Regions from separate parts of the Homo sapiens genome. Here regions 2 and 3 are each linked to region 1. The links are contacts of gene promoters, found by promoter capture Hi-C in human tissues and cell types (Jung and others, 2019). All regions are on one chromosome and are shown on one strand. The core of a region is centred on a gene start or on the middle of the fragment in contact, and the rest is flanking DNA. Distances in the headings are between cores, read along the strand shown.

Region 1 (3,214 bases), core at 377-2,876:
ACATCACAAAGGGATTTGGATAAAGGTTGAGTCTCTTGGGTTTATTCTTGGAGAACCTTTGAGAGCTGTGAGTGACATGATCAGCTTTGTATTTTGGACACCTCCTTTTGATGTCACTGAAGGAAAGAACTAGAGGGAGACTATTGTTTTGATCAAATAGTGTTCTAGAATTTCTGAACCCAGGCCTTAAGACAACTGGCAGCTTCTGCTTCATTCCTCTTAGAATCCAGCCAGCATGCTGTGAGCAGCTCCAGCACCATGGAGAGGTGACATAGAGGACAACCAAAATGCACCAGCTGACAGCCCCATTGTGATCCCAGTGGCAGCCAGCACCTACTGCTCACCACGTGAGTTCACCATTGCACCATCTGCAATGGTGTCTGGAGAGCTGATGTCCCAGTCCAGCTGAACCCCTAGATGACTGCAGTCCCAGAAGACAACATGTTGAGCAGGAAAACCACCCAACTGAGCCCAGCCAACCCATGAAATCATGACAAGTAACACAATAACTGGTCTAAGCCAGTAAGTCATCGGTGGGTTTTTATGCAAGTGTAGATAGCTGAAAAACTGGAGGACGGGTGGGTTCCCAGGTGGTGGTCACAGCTACAGCTCAGAGGAAAAGGTCTGGCTGGAGAGGCTATAGATTTAGGAGACATTGGCTCATAGAAATGTGAAAGCTCTGTTGTGGATGAAATCACCTACATCCCTTTTCACACATGCCCAGCACACCTAGAGCACAGCCAACCCACAGCAAATATCTGCTGAATTAAATTCAACACTCCATATAATGAAGAACACTAAAAAGCCACTGTTTTCTTGAGCTAAGACAGTCCTCATGCCCGGAATTCTAATTTCCCCTTGTTCTAAGCATAGTTTTATGCTCACCCTCTCTGAATCAAGTGTGTACTCCTAGCTGCTGCATTTTATCTTCTTTATCCTCCTAAGACAAGTCCGTTTGAGTGTGGACTTGGAATCTGCAAACATAAGCTTGGGTTCAGGGTGATGATTTTTCTACCTGTGCACCTCTCTTCTGAGCCTCGGCTTCCTCAACTATATATAAAGGTGCGAATACCTGCTGATTAGGTAATAAAGGTGAACTCTTGGGCAACCCTTAAGGGGATGCAGCTGTATTGTCCATCTTCAGCAGGACACAGGTACAGCCTCAACCCAAACATCCCATCTGTTCCCTCTACCTGTGGCCTGTTCCTCTTCCCTGTAAGAACCATCTCCCAGGTTGGGGAGCTGGGAAATCTCCAGCTTTGTGTTTGAAAAAGCTCCCGGAAGACCCAATTTTACAGCCAGCTTGGCCAGCTGCTGGGGTAGAAGGGTGAGCAAGGAGCTAGTAGTCTGGGAAAGTGACTCCTAGAGTCGCAGATCTGGTTGGAGCCCAGGTTTGTCCTCTAACACAGTGTGACCTCCGCAAGCTCCAGCACTTCTTGGGCCCAGTTGTCCCCTGTTGTACACAAAGCATTAAGAATGGCCTGAAACAACCCCAAGGCTCCTTCCACCTGGAAGGCTCCGGCTCCTGTTGGGGTGGGGGTCCGGTCACGTGTTGGCGGGGAGGGGGTTGCCGGTTGACGTGGCTGCGGGTCCAGCCTCCTCTGACGTCCTCGCAGCCGTCCTCCCTCCCTCCGTCCCCGCCCCTCTGGCGGCGGGAGAGCTGCTGGCTCGCCCGGATCCCGGGAGCTGCCTGGAGGCGGGCCCGGCCCGGGGAAGGTGAGCGGCTGCGGGACCCAGCCCCTCGCCGGGAGCGGGCACCATGGTGCTGTCGGTGCCTGTGATCGCGCTGGGCGCCACGCTGGGCACAGCCACCAGCATCCTCGCGTTGTGCGGGGTCACCTGCCTGTGTCGGCACATGCACCCCAAGAAGGGGCTGCTGCCGCGGGACCAGGACCCCGACCTGGAGAAGGCGAAGCCCAGCTTGCTCGGGTCTGCACAACAGGTGAGCGGGGGCGGCGCGCAGGCCCTTCCCGGGCAAGGCGGGGTTGCCGGGCAGCTGCAGAGGGGGAACTGGGGTGGGAGGCGGTCGTGGATCTTTGCGCGACAAAGCTTGGCGGGGAGGGGACAGCAGACGCGTTGGAGGACAGGTCAAGGAGTCAAAAAGGTAGGGGGATGGGGGAGGCTAGGGGATGGGGGAGACGAGACCTGAAGGAGAATTAGGGAGCGGCGAGCTTGTGGGGACTGAGAGAAGAATGGGGGCCAGCAGCGAGACCTAAAGGGAGGGGACAGGAAAGGGGACCTGGATAAGAATTAGGGCTGGGAAGGGTAAGAGGAGAGGGAGGCTGGGAGGGGAATCGCCAGGGTTAGGGAAGACCCTGAGAGGTACCAGAGAATGAGGAGTTTGCAGAATTGGGAAGAAGACTGGGGTCTGTGAGAGGGAGATGGGTGGTGGTTGTGGAGCCAGGGTAGGGCAAGTCCTGCCAGAGCTGAGAAGAGGTAATGCCTGCAAAGCCAGAGGGGAGGTGGCCGCGGTCCCGCAGGAGCTGGGAAGCTAGCTAGCGGGGTCTAGAGAGCTGAATCCGGGAGGAACCTGAAGGACTCTTCCCCACCCCCTAGCAGCTCTGAGCTCCAGCCAGTCAGAGGGGGTTGGTATGGCCTCCCCCAAGATGTCTCTGCAGACGTCCCTGGAGACAGGAGGGCTTTTATCCCATGCATTTGCTCATGGCCAGAGCCCCTTCGTGCAGGAAATAGCCCGTGCTCCCATTGTAAAGAGCAGCAGAAGGGGTCTGGGGAAGCAGTTTGGAAGGATTTCCCTGCATAGGCTGTGACCTCCAGGATGCATTTCCAAAGTACAGAATGCAGAATGTTCTCTGGAGAACCAGGAGGCAAAGAGTCCTGCTAGAGTGATTTGAGGAAGGATGGCCCTGGGGCAGGGGCATGACTTAAAGGACCTCCTAAAGGCCCTCTAGATCCCTTATAGACTGTATGGTTCCAGGAGTGGCACTAAAATGCTGTGACTCCATCTTCCTTTTTCCAATCAATAATTCAAAAGCTCAGAGGACCCAGTTGTGTGGGGCCTGTGTCAGTCACTGTACAGTGAGAGTGGAAAGGAAATGGCTGCTGTCCTTGAGGCACTTATAATCCAAGAACAGTGACATTGACAGTGGCTAAATAGGAGCCGGCTGCACAGCAGAATGTGGGACTTGGGACGATCTGGAAAAGGGGAATAGTGGGCTTTCCACTGGCCAGGTGTTGGGAGTCCTTCTCCACAAGT
Region 2 (3,214 bases), core at 370-2,869, 150 kb after region 1:
AAAGTGGACAATAGGGTTAAATGCAACAGGGAGGTCCAGTAAGATAAGAACTTAAGGATTTCCTCAGATTTCATGATAGGAGTCACTTATGTCCTTAACAAGAACAATTTTAGTGGTATTACCCCATGGAAGTGGTATAGCAGATTGGAATGAGTTGAGGAGAAAATGAGAGGTAAGGAATTAGAAAAAGAAAGCACAGATTATCTTTTTGAGCTATTTGGATGAAAAGTGTTAGAAAGAGAAGGCAGAGTTAAATATTTTTATTGTTTAAAGGTTGGGAGAAAATTGGATGTGTTTCCAGCTTATGGGAATGCAGCTGGCAGAGAAGGCAAGGTTAACAGCAGAGAGGTAACACCAGAAAGAGGACTTTTACTTTAATTTGGGGATGGGGATGGGGATGGGGTATGTGTGGCACATTCTTAAGCAGGGTGTTGCTCCTCTTTCCACAGCAAGATGGCTGAGCCATCAGTATTTTCCTGGGTTTTGCTCAATCTTTGCTGTCCCTGGGCTGGCTTTAGGAATTGGAGAAGTATACTCATCAGAGGATTTCTAAAGCGCCAATCACTATCTTTGGGTCTTCTCCCTAGGTAGCTGGGTGACCTTGAGTAAGCTGCTGTCATTCTGGGTTTCCTGTAAGAGGTTGACTTCGATGTCCTTAGAGGTCCCTTCCATCCAGCATCACTTTGAAGTCAGACTTTGAGTAGCTCAGAGGCAGATTGTGAAAGGATGGAGGAACAGAATGGAAACAGAAGTAGAAAGGAAATGACTGTGGCTTCATAAGCATTACTCTACCTTTCAGGAACATGTCTTTTCAATTTGCAAAGTGCTGGGGATGTGCTTAATGATCTGCAAGCTCCCTTTTATTTTTAAATTATTGTTTTAAAAATAACATTTAAGACTTTTTTATTATAACATAATACATGTCCAGTGACAAAAACCATGAGCAAAACACTAAAATAAATCAACCACAGTTTTACTACCCAGAGGTGAGGGTTATGAGCAAGTTCAGAGCTTGGTTTATGCCTTTTTGGTATGTATTTGATGGGGTGAACACTGTGGGTTGCCTATTCAGTGGCAGTCTGTCTTCACTTCTGCTCACTTCTTCTTGGCTGGCAAAGCTCTTGTTTTGTAGAAGTGTTCAAGCTCCTTGTTGTCATGGGCTCAGGGAAAATGACCCCCTGCACAGCGCAGCTCCAGGGAATCCAATCATGATTGGTTTAAGATAATGACAGTGATCCCATTTCCCTTTTCTGTGAATAGTTTAGACATTGGACATGTGATACAGTTCTGGCCAGTGAGATGCACAAGAATGACTTTGAGGGAATGTTTTCCTTGCTCTTAGAGGTCCACAGAAGATGATGGTCCTCTTTCTGTTGCTCAGCTTGGCTCTATAAGGTGGAGATTCAGGGAACTGCTGCAGCCATCCAGCAAGCAAGGAAGAACTAGGCTGAAAACAAAAACCAACACCAAAGAAAAAATCTAGATCCCGGATAACATTTTTGAGCAACTTCATTAGCCAACCCTGAAATTGCCCTATCTTTGGACTCCTGTTATTTGAGATAATAATCTGCCCTTATTTTAGAAAGGTATTTCATTATTTGCAGCTAAAAGCATTCTAACTGTTGCAAATAGGATCATATTGCTTGTATTATTTTGAGCATGCTCTTTCATTTCATAATATACCATGAACATTTTCAAAAGTCAATAACTTACTCCTGTAATAGGATTTTGAATGGCTGCACTGTATTCAACATGTTGTGAGACATTTAGGTGTTGCCAGTTTTTGCCATTATACATAATGGTGTGACAACACCCTGCACAAATCTTTGCATATTTGTTTGGTTTCAGGGGTAATTTTCTAGAAACAAAATATTGGGTAATGGTTGTATATATTATCAAGGCTTTTCCTTAAATTTCCCTCCAAAACTTTGCATTGATTTGTAATCTGCCATTGTTACCAGCTTTCCTTGTTAGCATTCTATTTTTAACTTTGCATTGAAGTATAACGTATATACAGAAAATTACACAAATCATGCTTAATTCTCACAACCTGAAAACCCTCATATAACCAACACCCAAATCAAGAAACAGAGCATTTCGAGTCATGGGGGAATCATTTGTTCCTCCACCCAGCCAGTACCCACAGAAGTAACCATTACTCAGATTCTATCACCACAAGTGAGTTTTGCCAATTCTTGAACTTCACATAAATGAAATTACATGTATGTTGACTTTTACACCTACTCCTTGTGCTCATCATTGTATCTGTGTGATTCATTCATGTTGTTGAGAATAGTAGGTTTGTTCCATTTTTTGCTGTGTGGTATCCCCATTATATGACTATACCAATGATCCATTTTACTGTTGATGGACATTTGAGTTGTGTCTAACTCTTGGCTATTTTAAACAAAGCTGCTGTAAAGTTTCATACATGCTTTTTTGATGGACATGTGTACTCTAATGTATCTTGGGTAGTTACCTACAATTCAAATTGCTTAAATTTTTAATTCAAACTGGCAACACCTAAACGTCTCATAACACGTTGAATACAGTGCAGCCATTAAAAATCCTATTATGGAAAAAGTTATTGACGGATGAAAATGTTCATGGTATATTGTAAAATGAAAGCACATGCTCAAAATAATATAAGCAATATGACCCTATTTGCAACAGTTAGAATGCTTTTAGCTGTAAATATCAAAATTTGGTGTACACTTAATACGAAATTTCCAAACAGTTCTCCAAAGTAATTGTATCAATTTACACTCTCAAAAACAATACATGAGTGAGTTCCAGGTGTGCCACGTTCTTGCCAACACTTAATATTCACAATCTTTTTCTTTTTACTCATTCTAGAAAGTTTGTAGTGATGTTCATTGTGGTTTCAATTGACTTTTTCCTGATGAGTGATAATGTTGAACACCTTCTCATGTGTTGATTGGCCATTTGAATATCCTTTCTTGTGAAGTGCTTAAGTTTTATGCCCAAAGTTTAATTGTTTTTTGTTTTATTGATTTCTCAGATATATGTATTGCCAATATCTTATCCCAGTGTATATTTTGCCTTTTCACGCTCCTGATGTCTTTTAATGAACAGAAGTTCTTAATTTTAATGAGGCCTATTTTATGGGTAATGGCTTTGGTGTTCTAACAACTTTTTAACTATCCCAATATCATAATGATATGATTCTGTATTTTCTTTTGGAAGCTTTATT
Region 3 (3,214 bases), core at 435-2,934, 130 kb after region 1:
TCTAGGAGTGTGCTCCTTTGAGAATTGAACGAATGCCTGATGATCCGAGGTGGAACAGTTGATGATCTGAAGTGGAATAGTTTCATCCCCAAACCATCCTCCCCGACCCCGTCCATGGAAAAATTGTCCTTCATGAAATGGTCCCTTGTGCCCCAAAGGTTGGAGACCACTGCTCTAAGCCACCTACTCAGCCATGGCCACCTCAAGTCCACTGCCACCTGGACAGAGTTTCTGTGGCGCAAAGCTAACTACTTCTCTCCCCTGCTTACAAACCACCGACAGCTCCCCCGTGCCTCCAGGGCAAAGTCTCAATTCCTTCACACAGCATTCAAGGCCCTCCCGGCCTGGCCCTCACCTGCCTCTCCCCAGCCAACTCCACTGCTTCTCTAAACACCCATGACCGCTTGCCATTCCTGAACCATGGGGTCCTCCTGTTCCTGCCTTTGCACATACTGTTCCCAGTGCCTAAAATGCCCTTCCCTCTCCCTCCGCCTGGCAAACCCCCGCTCCTCCCTCAAGGTCCAGCTCATCGTCACCTCCTCTGGGAGGCCTAACCAGATCCTCCCTCTCCACCTCCAGGGCGAAATGACTTGCTCTCCTCTGCCCCATATCCATGAGCAAGCCAGGCGCATCCTACCTTCAATCCCAAGACCCAGGCAAGAGCTGCTCAAGAAATTTGAGGTGAAGTGACTTCTTTACTTTTTAAGTTTTCCAATCTGATGCCAACAGATATTTTTGTGAAATAAAATTAAAAATGATGTGGCAATGTCAAGTTGCCAAACAAGTTTCTCAAGGCTTTCTCTCAAAGTCTGCATGTCTCTCACCATACACCCATCCAGCACAGCTCAGGATGGGCAGAGGTCTGCGGACCACGGTCTCCATTGCCTGGCAGAGCCACTGTGCTCCCAGTGTTCCAAGAGGAACCTGGTGCAGGGCCCATCAAGAGTCAGGTGTGTACGTCTGGACCCCAGAGCACAAGGGGCCGCTCCATGAACATCTGCTGACCCAGACAATGGATGGGAAGGTTTGAAAATGCTGTAACATGGCCGGTCCTTATGCTAGGCATCCCCATTCTTCAAGTGGCCGCATAAAGGCACAGAGAGGGTGACCTGCCTGAGCCACAGTGGCTCATATGCTGTACTTTCTTTACACTGCCCATCATCTCAGGGGAAGGAACTTGGAATCTGTAAGTTAGCCATCCAAACTCCTGCCCAGCATGGATGGCTGACCTTATCTCCCACTGCAGTCCCAGCAAGCCAGTCCCATGCTGTGATAAAGAGCTCAGACTCTGGAATCAGACAGACCTAGGTTCATATCCTGGCTCAGCCTTTCATAGCTGTGTGACCTTAGGTGAGTCACCTCACTTCTCTGGGCCTCAATGTTACCTCTGTAAACTGCACCTAATAACACTAGCATCATGGGACAGCTATGAGGGTTGAATGGAACATGCCCGTCCACACTCATTTGGGCTCGGCTGTCGCTGATGTTTATAAAAGGCCCAGGGTCTGGCAGCCAGACACTCTGCCCTGGATCCTCCTTTTCTGCTTGCTCTTCTGGAGACCCAATATCTCCTCTCTGGGGTCAAGAGAGACTGCCGGTTTCCCTGGCTGCTAAGCTTGCTGATTTCCCTTGAGGACTTCACCTCCCTGCCCTCTGCCTCCCTCAGGCTAAGGGGCTTTTCCTTCCTCCCTCTCCACCCCTCCTTGAGGCACCCCTGCACCCCCTCTCCAAATGCAAACCCCCTCTGGCTGGTCTTTCTTTCTCTTGGAACACAGCCGGCCTAAAGAGGGGCACCCCTGGCCCCTGGGAAAATGACACTCTGTTTGGGTTGGAACAGTAAAGGGCTGTGAGGTCAGGGACAAGCCCCAGCCAACCACCTCCCGGCAACCCCCAGAGCCCGCCCTCTCTGTACCTTGGGCCATGACGGTGCTGAGTCCGCCCTGGCTGGGTCCCAGTTGGCTGCTCCCAAGAGAAGCTCACTTCCTTCTGGGGCTGAGGGTCTGGTGGGCTCCTCCCCATGCCCCTTGGCCATCGTGGAGCCTCCCAAGCCGGCCATCTCCATCCCCTGGCATCGGGCAGCCAGATCCTTTCCTGGCCCTCACCCCTTTCCCTTGGGGAAAGTGAGAGATAGTGGGAGAAGCCACTCCGGGAAAGCTGACATTGTGGGGGCGGTTCCATATTTACTTGCTCAGTGACGTCCATACCAGCCCAGCTCAGTGCCCTAGTCAAAGTGATCCTCCTGCCTGCTGGGCCCACTCTCGCCCTCAACTCTGACACAAGCCTGGGGGAAGGCGCCCACCGGCCACTACCCCCCTTTCTACCCCAAGCTCCTTCCAGCCACACTCCCTGCAGTAGCTGGACAATCTCTCTGTTTGGGAAGCAGGGTACAGAGGCTACAACAACACTCTCTGGGGTCCCCATTCTGCTCTGATTCCAGAAGGACTGGGGTGCAGAGGAAGGGGTGCTAGATTTGGGGTTAGAATGTTAGCTTGGTTACTTCCTAAACTGTATGAGCTCTAAGTCACTTCCCCTCTCTGAGCCTCAGTTTTCTGAGCTATAAAATGGGGGTTTTAAGAGCCAACCTGCCTGGGCTAGTGATCAGGGATCGGGAGAAGGTGCAGTTGGGAGGAGGAGAGTTCTGGTTGCTCTTATGGATCGGATGAGGTAGGGGAGACAGGACTGGAAGGGAAAGCTCTAGAAGGCACTGAAGGCTCCAGAGGCCTGGGGTGCCTCACTTTGCAAGCAGGGACCCCCCTACCACTAGCACCAACCCCTGATCTAAGGCTGCTGCTTGGGAGCAGGATGGGCAGCAGCTATCTGCCCCCACCCCTACTCCACTTCCCGTACCCAGTATCATTTCAGCGGAGGCTCCGGGTCTGTTTGAATGTGTCCGCAACTTCTGACCTGTGAGGTTCCTGGGATGGGGAGAAGGTCTGAAACCAACACTCTATAAATCAAATCCTACTTTTATTGATTTATTATTTTTTGAGACAGGGTCTCACTCTGTCTCCCAGGCAGGAGTACAGTGGTGCGATCTCAGCTCATCACAGCCTCGATCTCCCAGGGTCCAGTGATCTTCCCGCCTCAGCCTCCCAAGTTGCTGGGACTACAGGCACACATCACCAAGCCCAGGTAATTTTGTTCATTTTTTGTAAATACAGGGTCTCACTATGTTGCCCAGGCTGGTCTCAAACTCCTGGACTCAAGCGATCCT

What was found. The method cuts DNA at HindIII sites, captures the fragments that hold promoters and counts their contacts. A contact is called where the count stands out against the background at its distance.
Region 2: a fragment that was not itself captured here is called in contact with the fragment with the promoter of SYT13 in region 1 in 1 of the 25 tissues and cell types used here (hippocampus).
Region 3: a contact is called between a fragment that was not itself captured here and the fragment with the promoter of SYT13 in region 1, in 1 of the 25 tissues and cell types used here (dorsolateral prefrontal cortex).

Annotation. Positions count from the first base shown.
Region 1 is chr11:45,284,753-45,287,966 of GRCh38, reverse strand. It overlaps SYT13 (synaptotagmin 13), which reads left to right and starts at 1,626. Exons shown (of 6, transcript NM_020826.3): 1 at 1,626-1,942. The coding sequence starts at 1,760. RefSeq lists an enhancer at 1,445-2,231. The HindIII fragment of the contact is 8,257 bases long and covers 1-3,214 here.
Region 2 is chr11:45,130,165-45,133,378 of GRCh38, reverse strand. All of the region lies in intron 3 of LOC105376652 (a long non-coding RNA gene), which reads left to right. It also overlaps a transcript of PRDM11 not described here. Among named protein-coding and RNA genes, the nearest start is that of PRDM11, 15 kb to the left of the region's middle. The HindIII fragment of the contact is 4,739 bases long and covers 1-3,214 here.
Region 3 is chr11:45,154,129-45,157,342 of GRCh38, reverse strand. The region is part of intron 1 of PRDM11 (PR/SET domain 11); the gene reads right to left. Among named protein-coding and RNA genes, the nearest start is that of PRDM11, 9.1 kb to the right of the region's middle. The HindIII fragment of the contact is 3,876 bases long and covers 1-3,214 here.